3 separate regions of the Homo sapiens genome follow, and regions 1 and 2 are each linked to region 3. The links are contacts of gene promoters, found by promoter capture Hi-C in blood cells and fetal thymus (Javierre and others, 2016). All regions are on one chromosome and are shown on one strand. The core of a region is centred on a gene start or on the middle of the fragment in contact, and the rest is flanking DNA. Distances in the headings are between cores, read along the strand shown.

Evidence for each region. The method cuts DNA at HindIII sites, captures the fragments that hold promoters and counts their contacts. A CHiCAGO score of 5 or more calls a contact.
Region 1: a fragment that was not itself captured here is called in contact with the fragment with the promoter of SYBU in region 3 in 2 of 17 cell types (total B cells and naive B cells); the score reaches 9.5 in total B cells.
Region 2: a contact is called between a fragment that was not itself captured here and the fragment with the promoter of SYBU in region 3, in 2 of 17 cell types (total B cells and naive B cells). The highest score is 9.1, in total B cells.

The regions. Positions count from the first base shown.
Region 1 is chr8:109,516,398-109,520,617 of GRCh38, reverse strand. It overlaps PKHD1L1 (PKHD1 like 1), which reads right to left. Exons shown (of 78, transcript NM_177531.6): 73 at 2,110-2,451. Among named protein-coding and RNA genes, the nearest start is that of EBAG9UORF, 21 kb to the left of the region's middle. The HindIII fragment of the contact is 663 bases long and covers 958-1,620 here.
Region 2 is chr8:109,547,372-109,551,832 of GRCh38, reverse strand. It overlaps EBAG9 (estrogen receptor binding site associated antigen 9), which reads right to left. Exons shown (of 7, transcript NM_004215.5): 2 at 926-1,023. The coding sequence starts at 1,008. Among named protein-coding and RNA genes, the nearest start is that of EBAG9, 9.4 kb to the right of the region's middle. The HindIII fragment of the contact is 4,370 bases long and covers 1-3,446 here.
Region 3 is chr8:109,643,040-109,647,319 of GRCh38, reverse strand. It overlaps SYBU (syntabulin), which reads left to right and starts at 2,498. Exons shown (of 7, transcript NM_001099754.2): 1 at 2,498-2,684. The coding sequence starts at 2,661. It overlaps SYBU-AS1 (SYBU antisense RNA 1), which reads right to left and starts at 3,191. Exons shown (of 2, transcript NR_161375.1): 1 at 3,098-3,191; 2 at 1-2,202. RefSeq lists enhancers at 1,814-2,133, 1,795-2,731 and a silencer at 2,244-2,733. The HindIII fragment of the contact is 4,274 bases long and covers 1-4,055 here.

The DNA of each region.
Region 1 (4,220 bases), core at 40-2,539, 130 kb after region 3:
GTAGGGTTCTCCTTGAGACTTGAAACACTATCGCAGTCTATGTCTAGAAAATGTGCCATTAGCCTGTCCCTCCCACCATCCCTAACTTCTACATTCTTCAGTGGTCTTATACCTGTCTGGATAAATCTAACAAGCTAAAACTGCTTTAAGGGGATGGATGTAGGAGGGATTGTATGTGGGGAAATATATGTCACATGTAAGAAATAAATCCCAGTTTCTTTGGATATCTAGTGGCTAGTGTGGTAAATTTTGGACCTCACGACACGTAAGGGCTCACCAGGGATTTCTAAGAGTAGGTGAGTAATCTGTATATGTGCCATGGGCCCTTTACAACTCCTAAAATAACAGGCAAAGTCATGCTGAGTCCAAACCCTGAGCCTGTAAGTCCAAGTGAGTACAGAACTGACGAAGGAAAGTTAACTATTACTCTGGGCAGAGAACATCGTGGGAGATCTGGTTGCAACACAAGCCTAGGCTTCCTACGCTCTTCTAACCAAGAGTTTATAAACACCTCCCTCCACACAGGCAAGCCTTCCCACAGGCTTATCCCCCCAATGGAAGAAACTTCCACCTGCTTAGCTGATAGAATTCCAGAGTGATAATGTGGTAGGTGCATAGGGTCAATGCCTAGAAGCAAACCTCTTGGGAAAATGAGTGAAGATCTCTAGTGGCATAAAGTGAGAACTTCACCCAGTACCCAGGTTTACACAGAGCCTGGGAGTTTAATGATAAAGTGACTGAACACAGGTAGATAGGGTAGATCCCAACCTAGTGGGGCTGCAGTTTATATATGTCTGGACGATCTCTTTAGGAAAAGGAATGCAGAAAAATCATACCTTTGTAGCTTTCATAATAACATTCAATGATTTGACCACATTATGAGGACCTCTCCTAAGGTATTGAAAGTGAAAGCCCCTCCCAGGACTTGTATCAGTGAGGGGGCTTGAAGTGTAAGCTTCATTAACTGGATGGTAAGTCTTCCTCTGACAGATACCTGCCTTTCCTGTTCTTGGGGAGGGGTACACCTAGATCAGAGTACTTGTGCTTGACCACTGAAGACAAAGGCATGGTTGCAGGTTAGCAGTGGGGGATATTATTGCATCCCAGAAGACCAGGAAAGTTCAGTAGTACCTCAAGAGATGCATATGTAGAGCAGAGAAGATGACCCACTCTGTACCAGAGGCTGTGAAGACAAGATGATAACATGAGGACGGAGGCCAGAACAGCCCCTTGGTATTCAGACCCCAACTTGAAAGGAGCAGATGGATAGAGAAAATTTGAAGAGCTGAGCATTTACTCAAGTGCCCAAACTGAGTGACCCTAAGGAAATGATTTCAGCCAGCAGAGATTTCTCTGATGGGACAGTTGAGCTTATTTTTTTATCTCTGATAAAAAATAGGAAGTGAGGGACACAGAGAGGGGATGATGGCTTGTGAGGATGATTCGCTCAGTCACAGGAAATAAAGACAGATTATGTACTTGCACATCTGCCCTTTTTGGGCTGAATCTGTGACTTTACTGTGGAAATCTAACCCACCAATCTACTGCTCAGAATATCCAAGAATATTTACTCTTTTTCTTAAGAAAACATCCACAGTCCTTCCTTTGACTTCCAAAGCTTTCCACATCTAGCACCTGTCTACCCCTTGGCTACACCTCCAGCAGCTTGTCCTTCCTGGCTCCTTCCACTCCAGACCAATCGGACCTGTTTCCTCTCTTCAAATGCACCAAACTCTCACCAACAGTTTCCATAGCTTGAACACTCTTTTTCCTCTGTCTTTTCATTGACTATCTTCATCCTTAATCTCTCATCTGTAAGGTCACTTGCTTAAGTAGGTCTTCCCAGATCTTTTTATATTAGATCAAATTCTTTTGTTGAACTTATTAATCATCACAATAACAAAACAGAGATTCAAATTCCTTCCAATTCTAAAACAGTTTGGTAGTACAGGAGCAAAGAAGGAAAAAGGGTCTCTGGGCACTTAGAGGGTTCAGGATGTGGGGTTGATGGGATTTCCTGAGGCCAGGCTCACCAAGCCCTGATCAGGTTATTTATGGATATGGATTTGGTAATTGCATTCCTCCATCTCAAACACCTGTTATTCATACCTGTGGTGCCATTGCTTATGAACTGAATAGGAGGGTCTCCAATCTCTATTTCAATTATGAATCCCATGGATCTCTTCCTCCTCAGACTCTTCCCTCTTATTTTGCTGATACGGATTTTGTCACTTGGTATCTTTAGGAACAAGGCAAGATTTTTAACCAGATTGTGAGAGGTATAAAAGTCATCTTCTGTTGCAACAGATAATTGGAAAGAAACAAATATCACTGTGGCAGTGTGAATTTCAACAGGTATAGTTCCTTTAACCAAAAGATAAAGCATCTGGTAGGTTCCATCAAAGTAGTTTTCACCAAGGACAGTGGAATCCAGGTTAGGAAGGAATTGGTCTATGAAGGAAAAAAGCCAGAACATCACAGCTAAGTATTTTATATTATCACAATCAACATGCGTTACTTAATGTTTGTTTGAATTTAGAAAGTCCCCCAAATTCAACTTTATCATTCTTTCATAAGAAAGCATACCTTTTTAAAAACAAAAACACTTATAGAACTGACCTGCGAAATTAAAGCCACTCCTTTAAAAAATACCACAAATAATCATTACACATTGTTTGTTTTTTAAAAATTAGCTATATAGACACAGTATAAATGAGAAACAAATCAAGTTATGATCCCAGGAGCCTATACTGTAGTTGAAACCCTATTCACATGCTCATAATTTTAAAGCCTTGACTGAAGGCATTTGGTAATTTAAAAATATAAATTTAACTTTACTAGCTATCTAATTTATACAGTGCTATATGCCAACTCTTAAAAGAGCATTTACAATTCAGTGTTTCTATTTTAACTAAGGACAAAACTGTGTAATAAAAATGAAGTATACATTAAAACATCTCAGAAGAATCTTATACCAACTAAACAGGCTTACATTTCAGCCTGAAAAATGTTTGGCTAATGCAAGACAAATTCTGCTAGGAAACTGAATTTTACAAAAGTGATTGAGATCATTATAATGAATGAATATATGTATGATTTTATGGCAGAGTATCAACAATTTCTAAGAGCTAACAAACCCACTAACACTTATTGAGCCCAGACAAACACTGAATTGTGTAATAGTGGTGGAATGAGATATGTAGCTTCTTACCACATTTCATTGTGAGGCTTACTAGGAAAAAGAAATTAAAATTTTAGGAAGAAGAAGGAATTTCACAGTAATGAAAGGAGCAGAGACAAAGATCATAAACATTTGGGTAACTCCCAAAATATGTATAGGTTCATAACACAGGGATATTATTTTGCATGCCAAGTGCCAAAGCAAAACGTTCACTTAAAAGCAACGCTGTTTCAGAAAAACACCACTACCACTACCATAAAACACACATTTATCTGTAAGAGGGCAGTGGCGGAGTTGTTTTCTGGCTCTTCAGCACCTACATTATCAATTCTTTACATTACGTTCTGTCTATGGAGAACAAAATAATATCCCTGTGTTGTGGATCTATACATATTTTGGGGTTTTGGAAATGTTTTATTAATATCTATGTCTGCTTTTTTCATTACTGTGAAATGCCCTCCTCCTTTTAAAATTTTAATTTCTTTTTCCTAATAAGCCTCACAATGAAATGTGATAAGAAGCGAAGTGCCTTATTCCACTATTAATTATACAATTCAGCATTTGTCTGGGTTCAATATATGTTAGTGGAACTCTCTGCCTATGAAGATAGTTCCTATTTTCCTAACTCTGAATGATATTGTGCTTGGTACCATATCTGTTATTTGAAAAGAGTGAACAATTTATTAAAATTAAGCTATAAATGCCATTTTATTCATGACACAACTATTTATATATAAAAAGTAGTAACGCTGACTCTCTTAATTTAAAAGAAGGAAATATAGCATAATGGTTAAGTGCATGGGTTTTACAGCTAGACTGTTTTTGAGTTCTTGCTGTGCACCATACCAGCTTGAGACTGCTATGGACTGAATTGTGTCCCCAAATTTTACATGTTGAAGCCCTAATCTTCAAGGTGATGATATTTGGAGATGAGAGCCTTTGGGAAGAAATAGGGTTTAGATGAGATTGTGAAGGGGGAGACCTCATGATGGAATTAGTGCCCTTCTAAAAGGAGACACCAGGGAGCTTGCTTGCACTC
Region 2 (4,461 bases), core at 12-2,511, 94 kb after region 3:
TTTGTGTGCCTGTTGAACACTGCACAGCTTCTTATGCCTTAGAATAAGACTGGAGACCATCATTCTTGTTTTCAGTTCTACATTAATTTTGGTGCAGTACTCGCTTTTAATTACAACCTAAAATCCTGGCTTTGCAATGAGATGTCACCAAAAATATAAGTAAACAAAAACTTATCTCAAACATTAAAGAACACCATCATAAAAAAATACTGCAGGATTTAATGTTGCAAATGTGAACTACTTTGAGTTGAGGTATTCAACAGATGCTATCACTATGTTTCACTGCAAAATTTAAAATATTCTATGGCATCCCTGTGAATTTCATGTAAAGCCCTGAGGTGCCTCAGCACACATTTTAGACATCATAGCTCTTGGGTATGATCGTGTGACAAAACAGAAGGAACTGAAGTCTACAGATGATGTCCTAAAGCAAATGACTTACCTGCTCTTGACTTCCTGCATATTCTAGAATGTTACTCAAACAGAAAAAAAAATTTTTTTTTTTTAGGATTTTTCTTAGGATTTTTTTTTAAATATAAAAACAACACTATTGTAGTATAGACAGAAATACCTATTCCGAATTTCACCTAACCACTTTAAAACATTCCCATAATGAAACGAATACATCAAAGTTCTGTGATGATTATAATAATGAAAGTTGGTCTGTCTATTCCTAAATAGTATTAAGCATGTTATTTTAGTGGAAAGTGTAAGAATTTGAATGAACAAAACAACTGAACCTCTATTTTCTAGATCTGAAGTAGAGAAAAAGTATCTAAAAATGACTAGGAATTAATGAATAAATACTGCAATCAAGATATTCAGCTTAAATATAACCTGTCCTGTCCACGAAATTTGAAGTTTTGAAGGTATCCAAAACCAGCGAGGAGATAAACAGGTTAGTTTGAACATAAAACTTATTTACCTGCATATTAATCTCTTTAGGAATGAGAATACTGTTGCTAGGCAGGTACAAAATTTAAATAACCGAAACTGGGTGATGGCCATGGTGGGAATCAAAACCTGTGGAAGAGGCACAAAACAAAAAATGCATTAAATTGATTTCAAAAGTCATACTCCTGTCCTGAAAAGACCTATTATGCACTAAGAAAAATCTAAGATATTTTTTACCTTTCTCTAGAAACTATAACACAGTAAATTTTAAAATTATAATTTAAATCATATTAACAAGTCAAAAACCAGGTTTTCGAGTTTTCAATGGTTGTAAGGATAAAACCCTTCATTCTGAGTTTTTGAAAATAATTTTACCTAAATCTATTAATACAAAAATCTACAATTCAAAAAATAAAAAAGTATAAAATAGAATATATTAAATCTCTGTGTACCTTTTAAAGTTTGAACCACATGAACATAATACTATTTAAAATACTTTAAATATTTTTAACTTGCAGATGAATATATTTCCTTATATCCATTTTATAGATGAGGAAATTGAATTAAGAGAGGTCAAATAACTTGACCAAAGTCACATAGCTAGTAAATTGAAAGTTACCATGGAGCTCATTTAGTCCAGTGGTTCACAAATCTGGGAATCTATTAAAGAAATGCCAATACCTAGGAGTACCTCTAGTAAGTCCATTAAATCATATATTCTGAGGGGCAAGGACTGGTCATAACCAATAAGACAAGCAGGGAGATAAAAACTACTCAATTGAAAAGGCAGCAGGAAACAAAGAAAAGAGAACAAATAACACATGGGACAAGCCAAAAACAAATAAGATGACAGACGTAAATCTAACCATATCAATAATCTCATTAAATGCAAATTGTATAGCATTCCAATTGAAAAGCAGAGATTGTTAGATTGAATAAGAAAGAAAGACCGCCCCACTCCATGTTGCCAATGAGAAATGCATTTTAAATAAAAAGACACAAATAGGTTAAAAGTAAAAGGATAGGAGAAAATATACTATGCTAGCACTAATCAAAAGAAAGGTGAAGTGACTATTTCAATGTTAGACAGATTATAGGAAAAATAACATTACCAGGTATAAAAGTGGTCATTTCACAGTGATAAAGGGGTCAATTAATAAAAAGTACATAACAATCTAAAACACGTGTCCTTAATAACAGACTTTTGCCAATATCATAAACAAGACAGATAACATTGTTAGAGTCTGCAGATATTAAAAGGATACTGAAGAACTATTACAAACACCTTTGTGCCTGTATTTACTTGACAAGTGAGATGAAATGGACAACTTCCCTGAAAGACACAAATTACTAAAGCATAAGAAGAACAACCTGAAAATCTATATATCTATTAAAGAAATTATATTTGTAGTTATAAAAATCTCCCAGACACAGATGGCTTCACTGGTAAATTCTACAAAACACTTAGGAAGGAATAATACCAATTCTATACAAACTGCCAAAAAACTGAAGAAGGAATATTTCCCCAACTCATTATTTGAGGCCAGTATTACACTGATACTAATCCAAAGATATTACTAGAAAAGAAAACTATTAATATTCTATGAATCTAGACACAAATCTCCTTAGCCAAATATTAGTAAATTAAATCCAACAATATATAAATGGATACTACATTGTGAAAAACTGGTGCTTAGTTTGGAAATGTTGGATTGGTTTAACATTTAAAAATCAAATGTCATTCACTATATTAGCAAACTAAAAACAAAAAACCATATAAACATCTCAATAGAGACAGAAAAAGCCTTTGACAAAACTCAACATCCATTCCTGTTAAAAAAAAAAATTGCAGCAAAGTATAAGGGAACTTTCTCAACCTGATCAAAAACATCTATGAAAAACCTACAGTAATATGAGACTTAATGGTAAAAAAATTTGATAATTTCTCCCTAAGATCATGAACAACACAAGCATGTCTGCTTTTTCTACTTTTAGTCAACATCGTAGTGGAAGTTCTGGCCAATGCAATCCAGCAAAAAAAAAAAAAAAAAGAAAAAAGAAAAAAATAGAAAAGAAATAAAAGGCATCCAGAATGGAAAGGCAGAAATAAAAGTGTGATATTCTATGTGGAAAATTCAACGGGATCTACCATTAATTGTATTTCTATACGTTAACAACAATCAATAAGAAATTGAAACGTTAAAAAAATTTATATAGGCATAAAAAAATGATACTTGAGGACAAATCTAATTAAGGACTTGACTACTGAAAACTATCAAATATTGCTGAGACAGTTAAAAGGCCTATTAATTTAAAAAGACTTTTTCAGAGACAGAATATTTTTATTAAGATATCAACATTTCCCAAAATGAGTTATAGATTCCAGGCAATCTCAACCAAAATCTGGGCAGGTTTTTTCTTTAAAACTTGACAAGCTAATTTCTAAAGTTCATATGGAAATGCAAAGAACGTATATAACAGCCAAAACAACATTGAAAAAGAACAAGGTAAAACAGCTAGCACTATCTGGTTTCAAGACTTGTTATAAAGCTTCAGTAATCAAAACTGTGTAGTATTGGAATCAAAATACACGAATAGATCAATGGAAAGTAAAGGAATAGACCCACGTATATACAAAAACTGAAATCTGATAAAGATGCAAAGGTAATTCAGAGAGAAAAGAATAGTTATTAAGAAAAAAAAAGTGCTGGTTAAACTGGATATCCATATCCATATGGAAAAAATCAAAACAAAAACCTTCTATATATATCTGGCACCAGTTAAAAGTAATTAAAAATAGATTATAGACCTAAATGTAGTCTGAAACTACAAAATTTGCAAGAAAAAAAAACAACACAACTTTGTGACCCTGGGTTAGGCAAAGATTTTTAGGTAGTACAACAAAAGCACAATCCATAAAATAAAAGATTAGTAAATTGGATTTTATCAAAATTAAAAACTACAATTCAAAAACACTATTAATGGAATGAAAAGACAAATCACAGACTGAGAGAAAAATCCTTGCAAAGCATATGTCTAATAAGGGACTTAAACCCAGAATATATAAGAACCTCTCAAAATTCAAAAATAATTTTTAAAAACTCAATTTAAAAACGAGCAAAAGGTCTAACTAGACATTTCATCAAAAAACATATACAAGGCCAGGCGTGGTGGCTCACACCTGTAATCCCAGCACTTTGGGAGGCCGAGGCGGGCGGATCACGAGGTCAGGAGATCAAGACCATCCTGGCCAACACGGTGAAACCCTGTCTCTACTAAAAATACAAAAAATTAGCCGGGCATGGTCGCGGGCACCTGTAGTCCCAGCTACTCAGGAGGCTGAGGCAGGAGAATGGCGTGAACCTGAAAGGCAGAGCTTGAAGTAAGCCGAGATCACGCCACTGCACTCCAGCCTGGGCAACAGAGTGAGACTCCATCTCGAAAAAAAAAAAAAGAACATATACAATGGTAAATAAGTAGATTAAATGATAGTCAACATCTTTAATCATTAGAAAAATGCAAATTAAAGCCACAGTGAGAAATTATTACATACCTACTGGGATGATT
Region 3 (4,280 bases), core at 1,249-3,748:
CAAAACCTCCACCTCCGAGAACTGAAAGTGCTACAGTTTGAGCAGTATCCATTTGTATGTAAGGGAAGAGTGGCAGGGACCAAAGGGACAGGTTAGGGAGGGGAGGGAGTATCTACAAAAGAGAGGAGTGGCAAGAAATGAGATCGGAGAGGTAAACAAGGCGGCCAGATCAGGAAAGCCTTGTGTGCCACATTAAGGAGTTTCAGTATTACCTGGAGGACAATCAGGAAATCATTAATGAGTTTTCACGGAGAAGCATGACTTGATTTAGCTTTTCATAAAGGCTTGTGGAAAAATGGAGACACTGATCGGAGAGAAAGGAATAAGAGGCAAGGCTGAAAGCAAGAGACCTTGAGTTAGACCACTATTGCAATAATCTAGGGTGACTGTGGTTTACACTCTACACGAAGATAATGGAGACAAATAGTGGACAGAAGTAATCAGATTCAAGACCGTTATTACTTGGGTGGCATAGAGATCACTTGGTGGTTTATGCTATGTGTGGGTCAGGTGAATGAGAGAAAAAAGTCCACGATGACACTGAGGTTCTGACTTGGCTAACTCAGTGGAGGGTGTTTCTGCTATTAGGTCCCCAGTGTCAATTCTCAATTCTAAGTAGGGAACTCAGAAGCATCCATTAACTTTAAAAGTTTGTTCTTATCTCACAGTATATGATCCCAGGCTCATAATTTTAGGAATAATAAGTTGTATGAATCATCCTGGACCATCACTTTCCTGAGGTCCATATTTGAAACAGCTGTGGGTGTAGAAAGTATGAATTAATCACCTCTTCTTCCCAAATAAAGAATCTTAAAATTACCAACCTCACTGCTTGAGAGAGCTAAGTAGATTGAAAAGGCATGAAGATTTATGGAGGAAGCTCTCTTTTGGAGTTATAGGAAGAAGGGAAATTGATTCCACTAATCCTCTGGCTTCAGGCTCTCTCTAGACTCACAACATATATTCTTAGGCTTGAGAGTTGAGGACTCAGAAATGCTGTTTGGAGGATGGATGAAAGGGGACAATGACCCTCAGTTTTCGAGGAGCACAGTCCTCCTATGTAGGACACTGGTGCATAAGGATCAGAGTGTCGCACTGCTTGGAATATTCTCCAATTCTGAATAAAGGGTATATAAGTCATTATACATGGTGAATTCCACCACCAGATAAGATTTAAGGGTAGCAATTGTAATAAATCAAGGCCCTTGGCCCAGCTGATGTACCCTATTCTAAGTCCCCAGTTGGACAGATTTTCGAGCTTTCTTAAACAAATTTGTGTGCATCACAAATGCTTTTTCTGCCTGTCATGTAAAAGGCATCAACAAATATTGACTGGATCATCTGGACCTGACTTAGCTGCCCTTTGGAAAGTTCTGTTCAATCAGCTGGATAGAGCTGTTTGTTTTCCTCACCTAACCCTCACAGCTATCCTAGAGGTAGGTATCACTATTATTATCCCTCAATTTAACAAGGGTAAATTTGAAGTTCAGAAGGGTCAAGAACCGTAGGCGTAGGCCACGCATGCAATGGCATCCGCATGTAATTCGAGCACTTTGAGAGGCCTGGACGGGATGATCCCTTGATCCCAGGAGTTAGAGGTTGCAGTGAGCCCTGATCGCGCCACTGTACTACAGCCTGGGCCACAGAACGAGATGCCGTTTCAACAGCAACGGAAAAAAAAAAAAACAAAAAACGAAACAACAACAAAAACTTTAGGCATAAAGGCACTCAGGCTGAAGGGACCGATTGGAGTGCTGGCTTGAACTCGTTTTTCTGAGTTCAATTCCAGTGCTCTTCCCTTAGCAGTGTGCTGGAGCTACTTCCTGGAGCCGGGCAGCTGCAGGGCAGCGCTGGGGAAAAGACTGTTCTCTGGCTACATAGCAGCCTGGCTTCTCCAAGCCGGAGGGAGCTGCGCTGACCACTGAAGGCCTTTCTGATGCAACCCCTTCCAAGTAGAATCCATCGCAGCCTTTCAGATCCCGGAACCCAGAGGCTGTGTCGGTCCTGACGCACTGGCTTGGCTGGGCTCCGGTACGAGAGGGATCTCTGCAGCTCTCGGGCGAGGCAGTTGTGGGGAGCTGTAGGCTGACTTAAGACCTGGAGGCCAAGGAGGGGTGGCCAGGGGAAAACTTTCTCTATTTTGTCTCTCTGTGATGTCGCAGCTTTTCTCAGTCACTCCATCCAACGCCACCCACTTCAAACCTGAGATCAAGTGCAAAAAAAAAAGAGGGTGGGGTCACCCCTGGGCTGGAGATGCCGCTAGCCGCAGCCTGCCTACACCGGGCCGAGCTCCTTGGAGAGGGAGGGACACCGGCTCTGGCTGGGGGGGCGCGGAGTGCCGTGGGGAAATCGGGCGGGTGGGGCGCGCCCAGGCGCGGTCGAGTTGCCCCGAAGGCCGCAGGTGAGGGAGGGCGTGGGAGGCGCCCCAGGAGCTGCCTCTAGCGAGTGCGGCACCACGTGTCCGGCCGGGGCGGGGTCGGGCGTGCCCTCGGAGCCCAGAGCAATCGGCGGCAGTGGCGGCGGCGGCGCGTTGGAGCCTCACCAAGAGCCGCCGCCCGCAGCCCGCGCCGGCTCAGCGCAGTCTCCTCGCTCCGTGCTCGCAGGTGCCTCCTCCTGGACGGCGGCAGCGGCGGCGCGAGGAGCCGGCGGGCAGCGGCGCGATGGGGCCCCTCCGCGAGAGCAAGGTAAGGAGCGCGGGGCAGTGCGGGCACTGGAGGGCGGGGAAGGCGGGCACTGCGGGGCGAGAAGCGGCGGGATGAGAGCTGGAGGGGTGACATTTAGAGTCTGGGGAAAGGTGGAAGGAGGTGGTGGTGGGGTCTGGAGAAGGCAGGAGGCATTGCTTAGGAGTTGAGATCCAGGAGATGGGGAGGTGGTACTGGAGGAATAGATTTTGGAGAATGACATGATTGGAGGGTTAATCCCACCTCCTGAAACTGGGACTGTGGGGTGTAGCTTTCAGTTGATATCCTGTGTGTGTGATGTGAATGAAAGGAATTTGATGCATCCGCGACTGGGAAAAGAGGACTCCCGCGTGTCAGTGACCCTGCCTTAGCTCAGGGTCTGCGGTGTGCCCGGCGGAGTGGCTGGCGCATGGTACCTGCTGGGCGGCAGATGTGCAGGGCGAATCCGAGGCTGCGTGCGGCTGGCGGCCCCCGGGTAGAGTGGATGCCTGAGGGCCCTCCGAAGTTCCCCATTGCTGAGGTTTACCCTTCAATTTATGCCATGTGCCGGCCTCCCAGAGGTGTTTATTTTGGCCGTGACCCTTCCTGGTAAGCCGGTGGAAGGAACAGTAGGTCATGTTTCGAAAGGGTGTTTGTTACCTAAGCCAAAGAGTCCCTTTCAGTGGCAGAGGTTGGAGGAAGCAGTGGAATTTTTGCAAAACGCTCCTCCTAGGAATCCATTTTCATAAGGCAGGGTGGTGGTGACCCTGCAAAGCACTGGATTTGAATTTCGTTCTACTTCTGGCATGGTGTGCAGAATTGCCTAAGCATCTCTACCCCATTTAGCCTGTTTCCTCATCTGAAAATAGGGACATTCATTGGTGTGCTCTCTATGTACAGTCTGGTGTGTAAAGATCAAATGAGAAAATGGTTGGAAAAGCACTTTATAAGTTGGAAAACATTGTGAAAATATTACTGTTACGCATTTTTAAAACCACGAAATGGCAGGGTACTTCATGCTGCGTTTTTAAGGAGAAAGAAAAATCTCTTCTTATGGATGTCCTGTAAGGAAAACAAAAATTAAAGATGATGTAAAAGGTGGAGCCATCTTCCCGAGTATCGGATTTGTGTTTGCTTTTCTGTTGGCAACAAGCCTTGTGTACCAGGATATTAACGAATAATTAAGATCCTGTCCAGAAGAGGAGGGATTTTAAAGATAATTGTGTGTGAGCTATCAGGAAATAACTGTTCCAGGTATAGGGTTCAACTTTGTGAGGAGACAAGAAAACAAGTCAGACTGTCACAGCTAATTTAGGGAAAGCAAAATGGAAGTCTGAAGGCTATCAAGTAAGCCAGAGTGTGGTGTTAATAAAGAGCCTTTGGGAGGCAGAAGCTTGAATGTGATAGAAGTCAGGGTGGGAAGGTGAGTCAGGACCAGCATAGGGAAGTAGGATGGCCTTCCAGCTAGTGAGTGGAGGTGTGTATATGTGTGTGTGTGTGTGTGTGTGTGTGCCACACAGACATGTGCTATTCAGTAGATTAGAAAGGTTAACTCATTGGAAGAGTTTTGAAGCTCATTTCAGCAACTGAGATAAGAAGGACTACTCTGTGAAGACTCAA